Linked DNA regions of Homo sapiens: regions 2, 3, 4, 5, 6 and 7 are each linked to region 1. The links are contacts of gene promoters, found by promoter capture Hi-C in blood cells and fetal thymus (Javierre and others, 2016). All regions are on one chromosome and are shown on one strand. Each heading gives the region's core, a stretch centred on a gene start or on the middle of the fragment in contact. The rest is flanking DNA. Distances are from core to core; before and after follow the strand shown. Region 1 holds the start of MINDY3 (MINDY lysine 48 deubiquitinase 3). Region 2 overlaps CUBN (cubilin). Region 3 overlaps RSU1 (Ras suppressor protein 1). Region 4 overlaps RSU1 (Ras suppressor protein 1). Region 5 has its middle 6.9 kb from the start of C1QL3. Region 6 overlaps PTER (phosphotriesterase related). Region 7 overlaps PTER (phosphotriesterase related).

Evidence for each region. The method cuts DNA at HindIII sites, captures the fragments that hold promoters and counts their contacts. A CHiCAGO score of 5 or more calls a contact.
Region 2: a fragment that was not itself captured here is called in contact with the fragment with the promoter of MINDY3 in region 1 in 4 of 17 cell types (total B cells, M1 macrophages, naive CD4 T cells and 1 more); the score reaches 9.2 in total B cells.
Region 3: a contact is called between a fragment that was not itself captured here and the fragment with the promoter of MINDY3 in region 1, in 4 of 17 cell types (M0 macrophages, M2 macrophages, M1 macrophages and 1 more). The highest score is 8.3, in M0 macrophages.
Region 4: a fragment that was not itself captured here is called in contact with the fragment with the promoter of MINDY3 in region 1 in 1 of 17 cell types (M2 macrophages); the score reaches 5.7 in M2 macrophages.
Region 5: a fragment that was not itself captured here is called in contact with the fragment with the promoter of MINDY3 in region 1 in 1 of 17 cell types (M1 macrophages); the score reaches 5.1 in M1 macrophages.
Region 6: a fragment that was not itself captured here is called in contact with the fragment with the promoter of MINDY3 in region 1 in 4 of 17 cell types (M0 macrophages, M2 macrophages, endothelial precursors and 1 more); the score reaches 7.8 in M0 macrophages.
Region 7: a fragment that was not itself captured here is called in contact with the fragment with the promoter of MINDY3 in region 1 in 3 of 17 cell types (M1 macrophages, M2 macrophages and M0 macrophages); the score reaches 6.4 in M1 macrophages.

The regions. Positions count from the first base shown.
Region 1 is chr10:15,858,995-15,861,985 of GRCh38, forward strand. It overlaps MINDY3 (MINDY lysine 48 deubiquitinase 3), which reads right to left and starts at 1,513. Exons shown (of 15, transcript NM_024948.4): 1 at 1,212-1,513. The coding sequence starts at 1,305. RefSeq lists an enhancer at 1,255-1,304. The HindIII fragment of the contact is 10,196 bases long and covers 1-2,991 here.
Region 2 is chr10:16,834,368-16,837,358 of GRCh38, forward strand. CUBN (cubilin) reads right to left here. Exons shown (of 67, transcript NM_001081.4): 63 at 1,868-2,015; 64 at 647-828. Among named protein-coding and RNA genes, the nearest start is that of RSU1, 18 kb to the left of the region's middle. The HindIII fragment of the contact is 209 bases long and covers 1,305-1,513 here.
Region 3 is chr10:16,740,531-16,743,521 of GRCh38, forward strand. All of the region lies in intron 7 of RSU1 (Ras suppressor protein 1), which reads right to left. Among named protein-coding and RNA genes, the nearest start is that of RSU1, 75 kb to the right of the region's middle. The HindIII fragment of the contact is 302 bases long and covers 1,323-1,624 here.
Region 4 is chr10:16,697,972-16,700,962 of GRCh38, forward strand. All of the region lies in intron 7 of RSU1 (Ras suppressor protein 1), which reads right to left. Among named protein-coding and RNA genes, the nearest start is that of RSU1, 120 kb to the right of the region's middle. The HindIII fragment of the contact is 903 bases long and covers 1,071-1,973 here.
Region 5 is chr10:16,527,260-16,530,250 of GRCh38, forward strand. No RefSeq gene overlaps it. Among named protein-coding and RNA genes, the nearest start is that of C1QL3, 6.9 kb to the left of the region's middle. The HindIII fragment of the contact is 368 bases long and covers 1,241-1,608 here.
Region 6 is chr10:16,504,444-16,507,434 of GRCh38, forward strand. PTER (phosphotriesterase related) reads left to right here. Exons shown (of 5, transcript NM_001261836.2): 4 at 577-717. Among named protein-coding and RNA genes, the nearest start is that of C1QL3, 16 kb to the right of the region's middle. The HindIII fragment of the contact is 973 bases long and covers 922-1,894 here.
Region 7 is chr10:16,468,266-16,471,256 of GRCh38, forward strand. The region is part of intron 1 of PTER (phosphotriesterase related); the gene reads left to right. Among named protein-coding and RNA genes, the nearest start is that of PTER, 33 kb to the left of the region's middle. The HindIII fragment of the contact is 833 bases long and covers 1,176-2,008 here.

The DNA.
Region 1 (2,991 bases), core at 263-2,762:
ACAGAGGTATATTAGGAATCGAGAGACCTGGAATCCACTCCCAGTTCTATCGATTTGTGCAACTTTGGCCCAGTCATTTACCTTTACAACTAATTTTTTTCGCCTGCAAAGCAACAGTGAGGGACTAAATATCCCAACTTAACAATACATCGTAATTGTAATTTTACCAGCTCTTAAAACAAACATGTGGGAGGGAGGGAGAGATTACGTAAATCCTGAATTTTTGTTACAAAATACACGTTTTGAAATAGGGGTTTATATTTACTATGCCAAAATTCCGCCCAATCTATTTCGGGAACAGGTGTTCCCTAAATAGATGTTTTAATAATAATAGTGTTTTACATACATAAATTATTGATCCTTCTGACTCAAGGTTATGTTTTAACCTCATCATCATCTTTCCTAAGTCACCTTTAGGAATGTGTCAGTTGTTTGCCTATCCAAACTTAAGAATTAGGGATAGTTACTAGTATAAAGCGCCCAGCCTGTTACAGTGCAAGAATTCAATAAATGCTTATTTTATTTCATTATTATTTGTACTAAGACTCTTCATGTAAGTAAAAGTCCTGTCTGGGTTACAAGCATACCGGCCGAGGAAGTACTATGATCCATATTCCTTTTTTAACCGTGACAGATAATAAACCATATAAAAAACGGGGATACTTTGGGCCAAGAGTACACTTTTTAGCAAATAACAGTGTTTATACACAGACTACCACGCCTAACCACATAATGACAATACAAACAAAAAACTGCTTTTTGGAATTAGCCACTTGGACTTTCCCTTGGACGTCCCTCCTTCTCACCAAAAATAGACCAACCACCACCAATAGACAGCTCTGTTAGGGGGTAAAGATGCGGAAGGCCACAGCACCCCTTGAGAAAGTGACACCGGGGCACGGGGCGCATCTTCCGTGTCACGCCCTGCAACCCAGCAAGGGGCCACCCTCTCCTCCTCCCCAGCCGAAGGGCAGCCCGGAGGATGGAAAGAGCGCTGCGGGTATTTAGTGGCAGCTGTAACCATTCTCCTACTCAAACTCTCCCCACCAAGGCAAGGCAGGGCGTGTCTAGAAAGTCCAGCTTCAGCGCTGAGCACGGCGACTGGGGCAGAGAGCGGGGCACGCGAGGGGCTGGAGCGAGAGGCGTCACAGGCGGACTCTCGCAGGGCAAAAGAAGCAGCGGCTGCAAGTGTGAGAGCCCCGCCAGGGTACCTTGCGTCCAGCGGCAGAAAATGGTGTCCGAGAGACCGGGGCTGCTCTTGGTGCCCCACACCAGCTCCATCAGCTCTTTAGTCAGTTCGGACATGATGAGGAACCGGCGGGCGGATCTTCGCTTTGCGGACTCCTGCCCCGGAACATGGGGAAGGGGCAACTCCGGAAACAGCAGCTGCGGGACGGCGGCGGCAAACGAATTGGAAGGTGAGGCAGGAAAGAAGAAGGGGCTGAGAGCCACTTGCAGAGACCAAGCCTGTCAAGCCAGGTTGGGGCAGCAGCGAGTTTTCCGTACCGGAAGTGCTGGTGCCACTTCCGACTCCTCTTTAACTCCCGCCCCTTAAGGCTGAGGGCCCGGAAGTCCCCTCCCCGGAAGTGAAATTGGAGGCGGAAACAGGCACGGAAAGCGGTGGAAGTAGCTTCTGACCTTTCTGAACTGTCTGGGACCCTTTGGTGGGGTGGTAGTTTTTGTATTGGGAAGGGGCGTCGGCGTGTTTCTAAACTCCAGGAATACCTTCTTCCTCTACGCACTGCTCTGGGCTAAGCTGGAGGCTCTGAGGCCCAGGCACTAGGAATTAGAACATATGCCCATTGCTTGTATTTTTCAATATTAATTTTGCAAAACTAGAACTATAAGGCAATAGTTGAGTCACAGTGCGGTAACATCCGTGCCTTTGTAGGGCGCTTCTCATAAGCTGGAGGCTGTCCGCCTCTGTACTTCAATAAATCAAAGTCAGACCAACTATTACCTAAAAACATGGCAAAGAATGTGGCATAATGTGCATTAGAAATGCTTCCACCAGCTGCAACGCAGAATTACAAGGTATTTGTAGGGAAACAAATTCAGAGCAACCTGTTTGTAAATGTTACAGCATTTTCATCTCCAGTTTTTGACACTGCAGAGTGTGTGGGCAACACCTGGACTAAAGTTTAGGTTTTACTCATTAACTAGCAGTTAAATTGAGTTCATGTGAAAACTTATGTTTGTGCTGCTTAAAAAAAGAGGGCTTGTATTGCCCGAGCTTTGAATTTAAAACGAAAGGGCAAAATCTGATTTAAAAAAAAATACATGCTTTTATTTTGGTTCTGTAAGGTTTCTGTACTCCTTGGAAACCATATTACTTTGGGATGCAGTAATGCAATAGTTAAGAGGCCAAGCTGTGGGTCATACTGGCCCATATTCCTACCTTTTGCACTTACTAGCAAGTTACCTACTATCTACCTAGGCTTTTTTCTTTCTAAAAGGGAGATTGCATACATTTCATATATTGTAAGGAATAAATGGAAAAAGTAACACATACAAAGGATTTGGTGTACTTCCTAGCACATGGAAGGCATTTATGCAACAGTGGGTATTTTTTTTACCTCAAGAAGCCATTTTGTGGGAATTTGATGCAACAGTAGTTCTGACTTTTTTACCCATAAATTCTAGCCAGTTGTATTTTAGTATAATACGTTATGTTCTCTAATTTCAAAAACATGCAGTTTCATTGTAGAATACCCTTGCATTTGGCTAATTAAAATTAACCCTTAATTTAAAATCTTTTAGATTGCAAATAAGGTTTTGTTAATTTATGCTTTATTACTAGCTATTTTTTCCTATTTATACGTTATTTCTAATTTTATTTTAATTAATTTAATTTTATTTCTTCAGTACCCTTTACTGTAATTACAGGGACTTGCCCAAAGTGCCTGTAGTAGAGCCATAGCATTCCTTTTGATCTTTATTCCCTTTAGAATATCCCTTGCCTTGTTTTTGCAAATCAAATCTTACCTATCC
Region 2 (2,991 bases), core at 159-2,658, 980 kb after region 1:
GGCTTCTCTCTCAGTGTGTCCTGGGGTGGGAGTGGGGGGTGGGTGTGTGGACGATGGGCAAACAGTGAAGTCATTTCTGTGCCCAAATTCAAGCTCTGGAGTTGTGGTGAAGAAAGGACAGACCACACCCCCCTGAGACCAGGGAGCATTTATTCAAGGAAACACTTGTCTTTAGAGGATGTTGACGATGCCCCAAACTTACTGTAGCTGTCAGGAAAATTAGGTGAGCTATTTAGTATCATTGAGCTTCATTTTACAGAACCAGCATGTTGTCCTTAGACTTCCCTCTGATCCTTTTAGGTCTCAACTTACATATTGCCCTCTTGAGCCTTCTAGTTCCCAGACTGAGTTAGGAACCCCAACCCATGCTGGACTCAGTTAGTCCTTTCCACATTGTGCTGTAATTGGCTATACCCCATCTGTCCTTCCTGCCAGACTAGGAGTCTCCTGCGGGCCCTAAGGTTCCCAATTTCCGGTGTTTGGACTGGTGCTCTGTAGATGTTTAGGGAATGAAAGGGTAATGAATAAATTAATGAAACAAATAAGAATCATATAATATTAGCAGCACTAGATAAAAGGTGTAAAATCTTAAGTGATCCACCATCTTTTAAATAATTCATTCAAACGATATTCAAATGCATATCACCTCCAAGAAATCGTTTCTGCATTCAACTGAGTTCTCGATGCCAAGTGAATGAAAAAAGAGGGAAATGGTGTGGTTCTGGGGGGCTGTGAGAGTAACGGTGCAATCCTTGTCATTGTCGTAGTTATCTGGCCATCCAGGGCTTCTCAGGTTGCCAAATGCCTTGTGATAGTCTCTGTTGCAATCTTAGAGGAAAAATAGGCATAATTAATGTACGCATTCCAATATTTAGTGCTCTTTCAACTTCACAGGAATCATTCAAAAAGATCATTGCATTTGATAAACTTTAGAAAAAAGTAATCCAGCTTCTTCGTTTACCTTTGAGATAATTGAGACCCTGAGCAGTGAAGTGAATTGCTCAAGCAGCACACACAGGTGCAATGCAACAGCTCGTTCACACAAACACGCCTACAGGAAGCATGACACAGGAGGCTTCTCCTTTAAAGACGAATACTCGAGCATCCTTTGAACTTTTCTGATCACGTTGAGGTGGAAGTAGCATTCAGACTCTCTTTTCGACAAGGATGCTACCTCCAAGACAGAGTTTTGCACAAGGATTTTAAATCCATTGTTGAGTTATTTGTGGCAAATCGTTATTTACCTTTTTTTTTTTTTTGGTAAAAAAATACCAAAAGTACTTTCGTTTGTTTTAACCAAAGGAAGCTTTCATTTGAGTCAATTCAAAATAAGTACTAAATAAAGTGTTCTGTGAAAATAAACTTCTTATAATAATCAGGTAACTCTTTCAAGGCTTTTTGATTTTTACAAAATAATTTTCTAAGATTTTCAATTTTGTGAAAATACTAAAAACCTCTGAAATATAAACTTTAAATGGGTAAATTGTATGATATGAGAATTATATTTTGATAAAGCTTTTGTAAATAAACATATATATTTCTTGTAAATAAAAATGTATATTCAATGTGGTTAAGTGTATAATTAATAAGATAATTGGCATATTTTTAAAATCAACTACATATACTTTGAAGAAAATGCTAGCATTCTAACCATCCTGGATAGTATTATATTCTCTTTATCTCTTTAGAAACCAACTGTAGTAATTTGCTAAATTGGGCTGGGTTCTAGTTAAGAGAGGGATGTGGTTTTTGTTAACAAATCCTAATTTACTCACAGGAGTCAATTCTAGAAATAATTGTAATTATTCTACGAATAATGGTAATGATGGCAGCTTTTTTGAATAAAAGATGAAGTTCCTGGCCTCACCTGCAATCTGATAGGTGAAACTCATTCTAGAGTTTCTGTTTACAACTCCAGATTTGAAAATGACCATTGCAGTACTCATAGAAGAATAAAACACTGGCACAGCCGAAGCATTTCTGCCACAGAACTGAAATCTTGAATTTCCGTGACCCTGAAATGAAATGGGAGCCAAATCATGTTAGATTTAGTCTTAGAAGAGAACAGGCCATAACAGAAATTAGACTGCATATAAAAGCATGGTGTAAATATTTAGCCATGGAAACCAGCTCTGCTGTTGGAAGTGCTCTGCAAGAAGACTCACGTTGGCCTTGGAATTGATGCAAGTTGCACCTTCCCAGAGGGGCAGGAGGAAGGGAGGCAAAGCTTCTGCTGAAACCACAGACATTTCCCTGCTGAAAATAAGATCCCTCGCCTTTTATGCAACTTCCTAGCTGAGGCCTGTGCCATTGCTCTGAGGATCTAGGCTGTTTGAGAGCTCACTGGATCTCTCCTCCTGGGGCTTTTGCCATTGTCCTGAGCTCCATGGGACTAACAACCACCATCACCCTGATCCAGCCCTTGCTACCCCTTAGCAAATCTAATCAGAGCCTTTGGTTCCACTGTACATCCCCCAAGCCAGCCGGGGCCTGTCATGAGGTACCGGTTCCCCTTTGTAACACTAGGGCAGCCCTCATCACCTCTCAAAAGCCTGGAGTAAATGCAGTCGAATGCCCATCAGTTCTTGGGTAAAAACAAGTTGTACCAAAGTCAGGGTATTTGCAGCCTCCCTGTCACAGGAATGTCTCTAATATCTGCAGTTCTTAGGAACCTACTGAAACACCCCACCCGTCTCTGCTTGCAAAACTCCTGTAACTGCTCGGGGCTTCCACCCCTCTTCCCCACTGTCTCCTGCTCTTGGTCCTTGTCTAACTTTGCTGTATCCTGTGAACTTTAACTGCACTGTCAGTCATTCTCGGTATACATCCCCCACCTTTCCACTTTGTGGCCTTAGCAAAACCTGGTTCTCCAGCAGCCTCCTGGTAGAGGCTGTTCTTTACCCATGCTCCACAGTTCATTGAGTGGGAAGGGTGGGGGGCCAGCCTCGGGGGAAGGGAGGGAGGCTCCACATTCCTCACTGCAGCTTCCAT
Region 3 (2,991 bases), core at 224-2,723, 880 kb after region 1:
GATTGGAAAGGAGGAGGTAAAACAGCTCTCATAAAGAGAAAATTCTAAGGAATCCACTAAAAAACAATGAGAATAACTGAGTTCATAAGGTTGTAAAATATAAAATCAATACAGTATCCACTGTCTTCCCACATACTAGCAACCAACAACCCAAAAGTAAAATTAAGAAAATAATTTCATATATAATAGCAACAAAAGTAATAAAATGCTTAGGAAAAAATTTAGCAAAAGTATCAAAAACTCTGAAATCTACAAAACATTACTGAAAGAAATCGAAGATCTAAATAAATGGAAAAAATATCCCATGTTCATGGATCTGAACTGAAGCCTTCATATTGTTGAGATTATGATAATCCCTGAAATAATCTACAAATTCGGTGCAATTTCTACCAAAACACAAGTTGGCTTCTTTGTATAAATTAACAAGCTGATTCTAAAATTCATTTGGAAACTCACAGGCCTCAAAATAGCTAAAACAATCTTGAAAAAGAATAACAAAGTTGAAACTAACATGCCCCAATTTAAAAACTTACTACAAAGCAACAGTACTAAAGATAGTGTGGTACTCGCATAAGGATAGACATATAAATAAGTGAAATAGCATTGAAAGTACAAAAATAAAACTATATATCTGCTGTCAATTGGTTGTTGACAAGAGTGCCAAGACCATTTGATAAAAAGAGAACAGTCTTTTCTACACATGGTGCTGGAACAACAGGACAGCCACAGGCAAAAGAATAAAACTGAATCCTTAGCTCATATCACATACAAAAATTAACTCAAAATGGATCAAAGATATAAATGTAAGAGCCAAACTATAAAACCCTTAGGGCTAGGAGAGATGGACGGATTGGAGTGGGAAAGAAAAGGGTATGGCATTTCATTTTGAGGTAACAAACGATGTTCTAAAGTTGTGGTAATGGTTGTACAACTCTGAACATACTAAAAAACACTGAATTGTACACTTAGAATGTATGAATTGTGTGGTATGAGCTGCAAAAATATTCAGGTGAAAATTCCAAGGAGAGAGCAAAGATCATGAAAAAGTGAGAGGAGGTTATTGACAGCGGCTCATGAGTGAGTGAGGGTGATAAGTAGCATGGAAACCATGGGTGCCAGATGGGCCTTAAATATTCCTAGGGAACATTAAAGAGCTCTAATTGACAAAGGCATACAATCCACTCTGTAATTTTCTAAGATCACCTTGACTACGGGGTGAAGAATGGATTGTAAAGGGAAGGTAGGAAGCAGGAAACCAGTTGAAAGGTTACTCTAGCAACCCAGGTGAGAGATGAGGGTGGCTTAAACCAATGTCTTGGGGAAGCTTACATTCTAGCAGCCATTTTGTAATGTTTATTTGTGCAGCTGTTTCTTTCTTTCAAAGATTTTCTTCATGAAGGTAAGGGTTATGTATGTTTCATTTAACCAGTGCTCCCCAAACTGAACTGATTACAGAAATATAATGTATATGGGGTTGGAAGTCAGATTCTGGTATGGTTAAGATGGATTCAATAGGGGCTGTCCAAGGAGAAGAGCCGATATTTTTAAAACAGCAAATATAAAAGGCAACAGAGAGTACTAGGCGTGTTAAAATCACTCTACGTATGTTGAAAAAATGAGCATAAGCTTATTTACTAATATTAGAATGCTATCACCCAAAACTTCACAGGAGTATAAATGGTACAATTAGATGCTTTTGTGTAATGGGTAGTCAACTTAGGGAATTAATACTCAGTTGAAAATGTGAAGAATTCTGGAAAGGTCTAAATATAAATATGAAAGACTGATCCATGATGTCACGGTAAGGCCTAGATTTCAGGTGTTGACAACATGAGGGACAACTGTCACCCACTTCACTCCTTTCAAACTCCCACTGCACTCTGAAAGAAACTCTCACACTCACACACGCATGCAATACCATTTGGGTCTGACTCAGTATAACCTTGCTTTTTTTTTCTTTTAACATAGGAACACTATAATATATAGGAGATGCCTCAAAGGGAGAGGCTACATAAATGTAAGATATTATATATGTATTGAGGTGATAACAACTGTATTTAGAGACATGCCTCTGGAATTTAAAAAAAAAAAAAATTAAATCCGGAACGTTAGCACTGCCGGCATTTCTCCCAGGGCAAAATACATTTAGCATCCTATTAAATCAAAGGAAGTCCACTGCACACAGTGGCAAGCTTTTCCAGCTGGTGTTAACACAGATTGATGCACATGTTCAATCACGCTGAACCTGACACTGGGCTTCCTGAAATTTATACTACAAAACGGAAACGCTTTATGTGTTGCAACTTCCCAACCCCTTTAAGGCAATAACTCACCAGGCAGAAATACAATTCACTTAGCATTTTAAAAATCCATGCTGAAAACATTTTCTGGGGCTAAAGATTTCACTGAAATAGAATATATAAAATGGAACTTGTTAAAAAATATCATGTAGGAGACTTGACGGGAGTCATTTTTGATTATCAGTGAAGGCCAGGGGAATCAAAGGATATGGTATGATTTTTTGTGAAGTATGGCAAAAGAAATATTAATGCAGAATTAAAACGTAGGAGCATGCAATAAAATCCAAGTCAAAATTCAAAGTTGGGTACAAATATTCTATTCCCAACATTTTCTTTTTCAAATAAAATTAAGGCATATATTTGGAACCACAGCAATCTGTCACCTAATAATAAATTAGGCCTTTTTATTGGCTCAGTTTTGACACATTGATGGGTATACCATTGGGAGGAATGCTTATTTTTGAATTAGGAAGATCTGAACTAAAAACTGGATTCTGTCTATAATAAGCCATGTCAATAACGTGGCCTTAGGCAAGTCACAATCTCCCTTGGTCCCATCATCTTTAAAAAGAGGCCAGAGAGCTCTCCTTGCCTACATTATACAACTGAGATTAAGTGCATGAAACTCTTCTGCAAATTACGATATTCTGCACAAAAACTAAGATATGTCTGTAATTATATCTAGCTTAAA
Region 4 (2,991 bases), core at 272-2,771, 840 kb after region 1:
ATTGCAGGAACACACCTTTTTTTTTTTTTTTTTTTTTTTTTTTTTTTTACTTTGGGAAGAGGGAGAAGAGGAGGGAAGTCAGCTACATTTGGGCACAGAGCAGCATTTCTCACCACACTGTATTTTCAGGGCCCTTGGCAAGCATGAGAACAACGTGGAGCAGGGAAAGGATCCGGGAAGGATGACACACACAAGTCTCAGCTATTTCAAATTTTCCCTGGGAAGACTTGCTTGGGATAATGAGGGGAAGAGACTCCTCTTTTCTAGCCTGCATCACAAGCTCCCTTCCGCCGAGTCCCAAGCCTTGCTCGATCATCCGAAACTGAAGGTATGTTATGAGTAAAGCTGGTTTTAAAGACCCCTCCTTGAACTTAAGGAATAGGGACGTATTTCTGCGGGAAAGAAGCACTCGTGTTCTACTACTGACGGCCTGCAAAACCACTCTGGAACGCACACAGCCTCTTGTTAACTTATTAACAGCATCTTACTAAGTGTGCAGTCTTTTCAGTGGTAATCCTCTGAAAATAATGTACTAAAGTTCTATGCTCCCTGACTGCCACTCATGGAAGGAGAATAATGCCAAGAAAGGTCAGCCATGTTCTCTGGGCCCTTTTGTCTGAAGCCTGTAACCCCCTGGAGATCTGTCAATCCCAAGTGATGTCTCTATTTAGGTGCTGTCAGTGGAGACGGCAGAGGCATCACAGATTGCTAATGATGGCTGCTAACTGGAGCACACAGGAGACGCTGGATGCAAGCTAGACATACTCCCTTAAGGGAAAAGGAGTCACACGCTGATGTCTACAAGTCAGAGTTAACAGAAAGGACCACAGGCTATTCACGATCATCTTCACTTATATCACTTCCAACCCATCTGCATATTTTAGCTGGGATGGGGAGTGGCAAGGAGGGTACAGATGACTGGGTTACCCTCCCCACCCTCATTTACTTACTTCAGTATCAAGCAATGCTACTAAATTAAATCCCCAAGTGCTTCCTAAAGCTACATGAACTTAAGAGCCTAATAGAAAAGAATGATTAGGGTTCCCTGGGGAAAAAAAAGAAAAGAAAAAAGCTTCTTGTATGATGTTGGTCTTTCTTTTTAACAAAGAGCCATGAAACCCAGGTATAATGTCCGTGGCAAACCTTAAAGGAGGAAACTATTATAAATGACAGAAATGGAAACCGCGCGAGCGAAACAGAGCAATGTCTCTTTGGAGTTAGAACTGGGACTTGCTGTAATAGGGCATGCTTGTTTTGTTTTTCAACTTAATGTCACCGGTGGATAACACAATACCTGTTTCTGTAGCGCTGCAACCCTCCCAGCAAGCGATTTGTCTCTGGGTTCTCTTGCCTCACTCTGCACCAGTTGGGGATGAAGCAATTTCAGAAGAGGGTTAATATAATTAGAGTAAAGCTGGCCATTATATTGTGTGAAAAGATGACACCCGACTCATATTGGCCTAGCAACAAGTTACCATTGCCTCGGCAGAGCTCGTCTGTCAGCTGTCGGAGGTAGGTTCCCTTTTAAGTAATAACATGCAGGAAGCATCTCACCCCGCTGTCAGTCAGCCTGCAATCGCTCTGACGCCACACGCTTCAGTGCGTTGAGTTAGGAGCCCTCACCCATCCCCTTTATTAGAAGGCTGAGCGGCGCTCTGGTGGTGTTCTAACAAGGATCAGGCAGCAGGATTAAGCACTGTGACAAAGAGGATCTAATAAGCTAGAAAGTGGTGCATCTACAGACACGCTGGCTGGCTCCCAGACACAGATTCACTTTGCTCACTCCTCAGTTGGAAGGCGCAGGCCACTGGGGAAGCCAGGCAGCGCCGTGATTAGCAGTGACCCTCTGACCGATGCTGCTATGAAGATCGTATATCACTCAGAGGCTTATTCTGCAATTGCAAATTGGATTTTCCATTTTATTACCTGCAAAACGACCACATATGCTTCTTTCCAAAGCCTCTAGTACAGCAAGCTTTGCCATGCAACTGCAATTGTGTAAACATTAAATCATGCAAAACACTCATTCTCCTTGCTGGTTATAAATGTGACTGAATGCAATAGACAATTGCAGCCCCATTAATAAGCATGCTCATTTTCACTTATGGAAATTGGTTGTTTCCATAATCACACTCTAAGAATTCTTCCTGAGTATTCAAAATCCTGAAACATGTGGCTAGCGGCACCATTTATCACATAGTAAGCAATCGAGGCGATCTGGGCAAATTTTTCACGTCATCAAAGTAGCATTCCCTCCCTTCCTAATTTCAAAATAGTACCACAGAGAGCTTTTTAAAATTAATGCACTCCAAAAGCCACGCTCTCTCATTCACTCATAAATATCTAAGATTGTGGTCTAACAAGGTAAAACTAAAAAAAAGTGGCTGATTGGGTATAGCCCATCATTACTATACTAGATTTCTCCAAAACCAAGCAATTGATTTGCTCAGAAAGGATCGAGATGGGACATAATAACAGCTGAAAGATCACCTCTTCTCTGCGGCGAATCCTCACATGGAAGCTAACCACAAATGACTCCGATACAAAATAAAAGCTACATTTAGGGACTCTCCCACATAGACAAAGATTCTACACATAAGTCTCCATAATTCTCATTATCATGTGCTAGGCTACTAATTATAGCAGTGCATGATTACAGACAAGTGGCCGACTCTGGAAAGTTCCTACTTTTTCACTTCTTTAGGAACACACTTTACTGAGTGGAAAATGATCAGAAGGCCTATAAAATGCTCATATTGTAATAGACAGTGTCGGCAGTAACTAAACATTGTAAACAACCGGAAATTTCATTACCAGGTGATAAGCAGAATAATGTGCTATAGCCATACTGTGAAATGCTATTCAGTTATTAAAACAGAGTTATTTGTATGCACTGACCTGGAGGGAGGTCTGTAACTATAATTAAAACAATGAGGATCTACCAAGCTTGCTATCAACCAATTTTTGAAAAAATACAGTAGAAATCCATAT
Region 5 (2,991 bases), core at 175-2,674, 670 kb after region 1:
ATAGATATAATTTGAAACCATAGTCCTAAAAGTAAGGTATTTTAGTTGCAGGAGGAGAAGAGAGAAGACAAAAGTAACCTATTGCAAGTGGCTGTACGTTCCATAGAAGTAGTTGTATACCTCAGTGTTTCCCACTGAAAGTAGCTGTAACAATTCATGCTTTAATTCATTAATCGATAATTTAATCTCTGGCTCTGGAAAGTGGAAAAAGTCTGTGAAAGCTGGTCCTACTTAAATGGAGATTTGGAGTTTTCGTTTGTCCCGGATTAGTCAAGATACAAGTAGAAATCCTTACACCTGCCAATACCCACAAAGGCATCTATGTTTTCACACAGGCCCCTCTAATTACATATCAGCAGTTAAGAGGTTTCTCCCCTTTCTAGCCACTTCTAAGATGCTAATGATCCTGGGAGTTTTAGCCTTTTGTTGCCTGCTGCTGCGGTGTTTGAACCATTCCAGTAAGCCAGCAACTTTGCAGGGACAAGGACAGAGGTAAGATTTGTTTCTTTGGCTGGTTGGTTTTTGTTTTGTTATCAATGGGTGAAAAAAAGTTAAAACTATCGATTAAATTTAGGGATTACCTGAACATGTCTATTATCCAATAGGATATCCATTATCCATTATGTATTTACATTTGTGTGTATGCCTTCCATTATACATACGTATATTATTTCTTTTACATTTACTCTTAAGAATTTGTTTTTGTAGGTGGGCAGAGGGTCTCAATGGCTACATAATGAGGGTCAGACATTGAGTACCCATGATGGTTTCTTTTTGTCCAAAGCTCCAGTACATAGGAACATTGTTCTGTCATGAAACAGACAACCGACTGGCCCTCTGCCCATGTTCCCCGGGAATGAGGGTGCATTCAGCCTCAGTGGCAGTTTTGTAAAAGTTCTTGAACACAAAAGAGAAAAGAAATTAGGAGCGAATTAAAAGGGATTTTAGGAGAAGTGTCCTCAGCAAAAATGCACTGGGCCAAGCACAGTGGCTCATGGTTGTAATCCCGGCACTTTGGGAGGCCAAGGCAGGAGGGTTACTTGAGTCCAGGAGTTTGAGACCAGCCTGAGCAACATAGGGAGACTTCATCTCTATGAAAAATAAAATAAAAAATTAGCCAGGCTTGGTGCTGTGATGGTGTCACTGCACTCCAGCTTGGGCAACAAACTGAGACCCTCTTTGTCTCAAAAATAAAACATTTTTTTAAAACATCATGCACTAAATCTAAACTACACAATCAAGCTTTCCTTCAGAAATTCTGAAAGAGCCAGAAGGCCCTAATCCAATGTTTTAATCTGATGTTTGACTGCACTGGTTAGAATGAATTCTCTGGGTATATCCATTCTATTATCTTCTCATTAATGTGTAATGTTTAATTCAATTTAATTTAAAACATGCAAGAAAAGAAGTGGACTTTGCTGTCTATTTCCCTTCCTCCAGCCTTTCCCATCTCCAAACTGTGTCACACAGGGCATCAGTGGTCATCTTCCTGTATCAACTGCTCACAGCCTGTGCCCACTCAGCTCAGAAACAATGATATCCTTCCTTGTTGTCCACATTGTCAGAAAGTCTAACTCCCTGGTGCCAGGCCCTGCACCATGGGCGCAAAGCTTCTCTAAATTCCCAGGTTTCATTTTCATAACTGGCCCTCTCTTCTACTCCATTGTTCAGTTATCGGGTATTTACACCTTAAATCACCTTGTCATTTCTCATTTTGCCTTCCCCTTAACTCTTTCAACCCACCTCCTCCCTCTCTCTCTCTCTTTTTTTTTTTTTTTTAAAGACAGTGTCTCATTTTGCAGTCCAGGCTGGAATGCAGTGGCGTGATCATGGCTCACTGCAGCCTCCAGCATCCAGGTTCAAGCAGTCCTCCCATCTCAGCCTCCCAAGTCGCTGGAACCACAGGTACTTGCCACCTCACCAGGCATTTTCTTTTTTTCTTTTTTTGTTTTTTTGTCGAGATGAGGTCTCACTATGTTACCCAGGCTGGTCTCAAGCTCCCGGCCTCAAGCAATACTCCCACCTCCACCTCCCAAAATGCCACAATTACAGACGTCAGCTACCACGCCCAGATCTCACTCCTCCTGATCTTATCACTTTTTCAAGACCCTGCTGCAAAGTCACCTCCTTCCCCTATCTCTCCACCCTGAGCCCCCAAGCTGCCAACCACTGGATCTTTCTTCCCTATGCTCCCAAGCACGTTGAATGTCTCCTCCTGAAAACACTTACCTCATTCTCCTTTTGCCATATACCCTCATCCTTTTTCCTGTTACTGAGAGAAATACAAAGTCTCTTAATCTCTGGTCTCCAACCCCACCCTCACTCCCACACCCAGGCACCAAGGACACATTTACTAGGGCTAAATACATGTTTGTTTATTTGAATGGCTGAATTGGGAACAAATAGCCCAGCTTGCAAAATATTCTATAAACTTAAGAAACCTAGATGTAGTGAACAAGCCTGGACTGAAAATTAGGCATTTCTATGACCCACTTTCCCTAAAGGACTGGACACTCTTTCAACTCTGCCAGAGAGGTTAGATTAAGAGCCAGCTTAGTGTCAATTCTTTACAAAAGAAGTAAAGATAAGAACAGAGAGATAACTTGCACAAGAGTTGGAGTTTAAAATGTATTAGGGCCTTGGATGTCAGACCTTATATGTGATGCGAAGGGTTGCTTGCAGACCCGCTGACATTTGGAACTGGTTCTAATAGTTTAAATACATGATTAGATTTGTTTAACTATTGTGGTTTCTAAATGTCTCACACCATGTGTGTGGTGGAAGCAGAAATTGCACTGTGGTCACTGGAAGAGAACATGACTTTCTCACAGATTTCTGCCCAAGATGGTGGCCGTATGAACCACCTAAATTATGTACCTCAGTGGATATTCTATGAGGTTCTTCACCTCATCTCTTTAAGGTTTGTGGACAAGTATTTTGTCTATACCCTAGACATACAAAATAGTTTTTTTTTTAATAAAAATAAGAGAC
Region 6 (2,991 bases), core at 158-2,657, 650 kb after region 1:
GTATGAGTATTGTGCCTTCAAGAAAATGTGGGAATGATATTCTTTAAAGGCTTTAGAATTAATTTTAGAACCACTTTACAATCTTCACAAGAAAATCACCCTGCTACCACAAGGCAAAGCCTCATGTGTTACCCAGATTAGCATTACTCACCTAATTCACCAGACCTGAGGCCAGATTTCCTTTAATAGTTTTCACAGTTCATAGCAGTCTTTAGAGGATGAAAATTTACCCCATTAAGGATTCTCAAAATAGTGTGGGGGCATCTTCTGAACACAGTTCTGAGGGAGAATTCCAAACTTGCTCTGGAATAATGGAAGCATCATTAAACTAAGTCTGTAGTACCCAAGTACTTTAGAGGGGAAAACTCCTTTTTAGATGAGTAAGTTCTGTTATTTCTAGTAACAAATTGAACTTACTGTTTTATACTCACATCATTAAGAGCCATTTCAGAAGTGTCTGTTACTCGACTTCAACTATGTTCTTGTTCTTGTACATTGTGTGCTTAAAACTTCTAGTATGTACATGTGGAAAATGGGCTCTTCATAATAACAGTTCATCTGTCGCATTGTTTCTAGGACTATTCTTGATAAGAAAGAGCTCTTGGAGTTTGCTCAACTTGGCTGCTACTTGGAATATGATCTCTTTGGTACTGAACTACTTCATTACCAACTCGGCCCAGATATTGACATGCCTGATGATAACAAAAGAATTAGAAGGTAAATATGGTAAAGCCTCTCATAGCATTCCCTTTCCCTAGCCCTTTTTGATTGTCATATCTAGGGAAGTATTAGCAAAGATTCAGAAAACAGTAAGCAGGCCGAACCACAGACTTGCAGAGAAAAATATATCTATGCTGTTTCAGGGAGAAAAATCTCTCTATATTATTTTAAGGAGAAAATGAGTCATCCTAAGTAGGCTAAAGCTTAGCAGAGCCTTAGAAGTTCAGTGCAGATGGGCAGCTGACAGGAAACACAGATAATACCCAACCCCTGCCATGAAAATCAGAGAACAAAAGACATTTTCCTCTATTTACCCCTAATGAAATAAGCTGTTCCTCTCTCAGGTTGACCACACTAAAGCCATAACTTCCTACAAGTAATATTTGAAATGCTTTATCAAAAGTTTTCATTAAAAAGGTGATTTCAAGTTAAATGCTAAAAGTATAAGGTCTAAAGACTAAATATTATGTAAAATGAATGCAACCTTCCAAAACTGTATAATGTGTGATGCTGGCAGATAATTGTAGGAGTCATTCTTTGTAATCAAGTAGAAAATTTTAGGCGTCAATGATAGCTACCTAGTTTGGTCTTGGTCACATGGTGATAAGAAGATTGAATGAACCAAGTTAGAATACCTAGGAGGAGAAATAAATTGGAGATTGACAAGGAAGGCTTTCGTTTGGGAATATCTAAGTGTTGCTACCCAGTGAAGCCCTAAGATATGGTTTGTATGTGATAGTTGAACCGTGGGAATGAATGACATCACTCAGAGAAGAAGATGAGGACAGAGACCTGGGGACAGAGACATTTAAGGAATGGAGTAGGAACCGTTTCTCAAGGAAAGGTCGAGGAGAAGTTTTCAAAGTGATAACATGAGAGATATATATTCTTATGGAAGTCAGTAGAGAGGAAGTCTCAGGGCAGAAGGGCTTGAATGCCGGTAATAAGTGACAAATATCAAGGGAAATAAAGACTGAAAAGCATCCATTGGATTTCACAATTAGGAGGCTCACATTTTATAAACAGAGTGCAATCTCAGTGGAAAAGGCTTGAGAAATGGGTGGGCCGTGAGGAAGAGGAGAGAGGATGTTGAGGTGACTCTTTCAAGAAGCGTGGCAGTGGAGGGAAGCAAGGAGATGGGTCTGGAGTTACAAGTCAATAAAGGATCAAGGGAAGCTTCTAGTAAGAGTTGAGCAATGTTTATGTGACTTAAGAGCAAAAGCAGAGACAGAGCCAGAGAGAATGAGTCCAGGGAAGTGGTGCCCATTCCACAGGGTTACTATAGAATTGACATGAAATAATGTTTTCCAAGTTTTTGTCTGAGTGTCTGGTGCAGAATATGGAAGTGTTCAATAGATGTTGACTTTAAAAACTCTGGATAGATAAGAAATATAGAGCAAGGTTCCTAAGGCAACAAATAGATGGAATCTGGGGAACAAATAGAAAGTCGGTTGAAAGGATGCTTTCTCCATGGAAATGAGAGGGCATGACACAGCGATGGGGTGAATGCAAACAGAAGTCTTAGTGAGGGAAACAGGAGACTGAGGACACATGGCCACATGTCCTCTAGTGTCTCTGTGAGGTGGACATGGTTATCTCCTGAGAAAAAAAGAGTGGATTTAGGGCAGCACTGTGTAGAGCAGGAGAAAGGCTAGGAATGGCTGTCAGGTCAATGAGAGAGATCTTGACATGGATGTGTTATGTGCGAGACCTAGTTGAGTCTAGAAATCATGATTGCATGCCTGTGTATTGGCACCAATGCACACGATTTGGTGATTATTTTCCAAAGCAAAACTGTTTTGCGTTTTGGTAGTGGAACCAGAGAAGTTGTGTGCGTACAAGCAGAAAATGGGAACAGTTCAAGAGATTGAGGGTTGGGATTCTATCTGAAAGAGATGGATAACAATGGAGGAGTTGAGATGAGGGTCATGGGATCCAAGTTGGAGGGAAGAAAGCATAGAGAGGAATGGTCAGATAGACAGGAAAAGCATAGCAGGGCAAATAAGTGGACTGCAGGCTTTAATGAAGTGGGTGGAGCATATATATATATATATATATGTTCAAATATATATACTGTATGTGTATGTGTATATATATATGTGTGTGTGTATATATATACACAGTAGAAGAAGTGAGTGGAAAAAGTAGAAAAATGTAACATGATCGGAGTGGGAAACTGAAGATGGAGATTTCAGAGGGGGAGCAGTAGTTCCCTATGATAACAAGAACTAGAATATAATTATGAGAACAGAAAAGTGGTTGCCGTGGAAG
Region 7 (2,991 bases), core at 342-2,841, 610 kb after region 1:
AGGGAGGCAGAGGTTGCAGTGAGCCGAGATCAAACCACCGTACTCCAGCCTGGGTGACAGAGCAAAACTCCATCTCAAAACAAAAAACTTCCAGGAAAATGTTTAGCTCTTTTTTTTTTTTAGTGACTTTTAACCTCTATTAACTACACATTTTTGTTGTTCTTTTCTAGTGCTAATTCCACTTCTATTTATAATTCTTTGCTTCTGCTTTAATTTTTGTTTTCTTACTTTATTGTATGATTCCTTTGTGCGAGTCTCCTCAAACCCTTTGTGGATAAAGCGGGACTAAAACAAGCAAGCATCTAGATGTTCGCTAAATACATACTGTGTACCAGGCACTGCAGGGAACTGAGGACTGAGAGGCAAAGATGTGACTCACCGCAACGAGCTCAAAGTCTGATGGAAAAGACATAAAACAGAAGAAGGTAGCTAGGTGCAATGGCTCATGCCTATAATCCCATTACTTTGGGGGCCAAGGTGGGAGGATCCCTTGAGTCCAGGAGTTCAAAACCAGCCTGGGCAACACAGGGAGACCCCTTTCTCTATAGAAAATAAAAAAAATAATTGGGTGTGGCAACGTGCACTTGTAGTCCCAACTACTCAGGAGGCTGAGGTGGGAGGATCTCTTGAGCCCAGGAGTTTGAGGCTGCAATGAGCTACGATCATACCCCTGTACCCCAGCCTGGGTGACAGAGTGAGACCCTGTCTCTTAAAAAAAAAAGCCAAAAAACAAAAATCAGAAGAAGTGCATTATTAAGGTGAAATTGAGGTGCTATGAGAGTACCTAGAATTGACATCTTACCTGTATTGCTTGAGCAACAAGGAGGAACCACAGGACAATCTTCTAGTTAGGAAGAGTGCTGAAGGCCGAGTAGAAGTTGGCCAGGACTGGGAAAGGGTTAGGGAGGCAGAGTGGGAGTGGGCTGGATTTGCAAGCTGAGAGCAAAGAGGCAGAAACCTGCTCAGAGACCTTGCGACAGGGGAGAAGATAAAAAGTCCAGGAAAGGGCAGGTGAGTGCAGAGTGGGTTCATAGGGTACTATCAGGCTCTATGTTCAGATTTGTTTTTTAAGATTAGAAGAAGACTCAGGGAGAGACACATTCTTGTCTGCGATTTAGAAAGAGCGCTGTATAGGCTTCCTAAGGTGGATTGCAAAGCCAGAGAGACTTCTGAGAAGCTTTTACTGGAATCCATCTGTGAGATGATGGTGGTTCCTACTAAGATCGTGACTGTGAGAATGAAGGGGAAAAGGAATCAAAGAGCTATTAAAGTGGTGGAATTTACGGGATTTAGAAACTGAGTGGGTGTGGGTGAGGCAGGAGTCTTGGATGAAATCTGAGTTCATTCTGTTGTTTGTTTGTTTGTTTCTGAGAGCATGAACTTGGCTCATAGCCTCGAGTCCAGGCTCAAGTGATCCTTCTGCCTCAGCCTCCTGTGTAGGTGGGACCACAGGTGCATGTCACCATGGCTGACTAATTTTGGGATTTGTTTTTCTAGAGATGAGGTCTCACTTTGTTGCCCAAGCTGATTGCGAACTCCTGGGCTCAAGCAGTCCTCCTGCCTCAGCCTCCCAAAGTGGTGCTGGGGTTATAGCATGAGCCACCGTGCCTGGCTGTTTTTTTTGTTTGTTTTTTTGTTTTTTTTTTTAATTTAAATAAGAGCATTTGTAGATGTTGCATCAGAGAGAATGTGAAAAATATAGAAATGTCATGTAAATTACCGAGTGCTGGGCTTGGCACATGGTAATTTTACAATAAGGTTGCTATCTATTGTTATTGTCGGCTAAACTAGTCTAATTAATCTTAGCAGAACTGTGTATGAAGTGCTGTTCATAGTCAATATTTGGCATTCTCTAAGCAGACTTAGGTTGGAATTGCAGCCTTTCAGTCCAGGGGCAAGTTTCTTAACTTTTCTTGGCCTTACTTTCCTCATAGAATATCAAGCCAGCAATGCATTCGTGAAAATTTGAGATAAGAGATGTAAAGTGCTTTAAGCAACACATAGTAGAAGCTTAGTCAATGAACAAAAGGCATTATTGTTGGTTCCCAGCCTCCAAGTGAGGCCACAGGACTCTTATCTATCTTTGTATCTCCCATAGACCTTACCTGCCTCGAATAACATCTTACACTTATTAACTGCTTAATACATATTTATCAAATCCATAGTAACTTTTTATTTCATCCTGTTGAGGCTTTTCGCCCTCCATTAAAAGGGTTTCTTGGGAGGGAGCGGTGGCTCACGCCTGTAATCCCAGCACTTTGGGAGATCGAGGCAGGCAGATCACTTGAGGTCAGGAGTTCAAGACCAGCCTGGCCAACAGAGTGAAACCCCATGTCTACTAAAAATACAAAACTTAGCTGGGTGTGGTGGCGGGTGCCCGTAATCCCAGCTACTTGGGAGGCTGAGGCAGGAGAATCACTTGAATCTGGAAGGTGGAGGTTGCAGTGAGCCAAGATTGTGCCACTCCACTCCAGCCTGGGTGACAGAGCAAGGCTCCATCTCAAAAAAAACAAAAAAAATTCTTCTTATGGTTCTGTTCTTTAAAAAGGTTTCTTTCTATGGTTCTATTTTTATGGTTTATCTTTACTTACAATTTATTGTTCTTGATTCTTTTTTTTTTAACTTAAAAATGATGACTGACACTTCCTAATTTATGATTAAGAACTTCCCTTCACAACACCCCCGCCTCCATTTCCGCTGCTAACCCCTCATATGAGTGTGTTCAGATGAGATCTTGTTCCTGGTCTGGCTTAACTGTGATACGAATTATTCAGGCCATGGAGCTTTTTCTAGAATTGTCACTGGGCTTCAAGACTTCCACCAAAGTCAAAATCAGTCGGCGATGGACTACCTCAAACAGCTTGAATTGAATTAAAATGAACCATAGCACTAGAAAGGCATGTAATTTGATCTGAAATATTGCGCAGGAACAATATCAAGTCTCAGGCAAGACAGGCAATTAGCAACTTTGTGATAATAAAGAATTTGAAA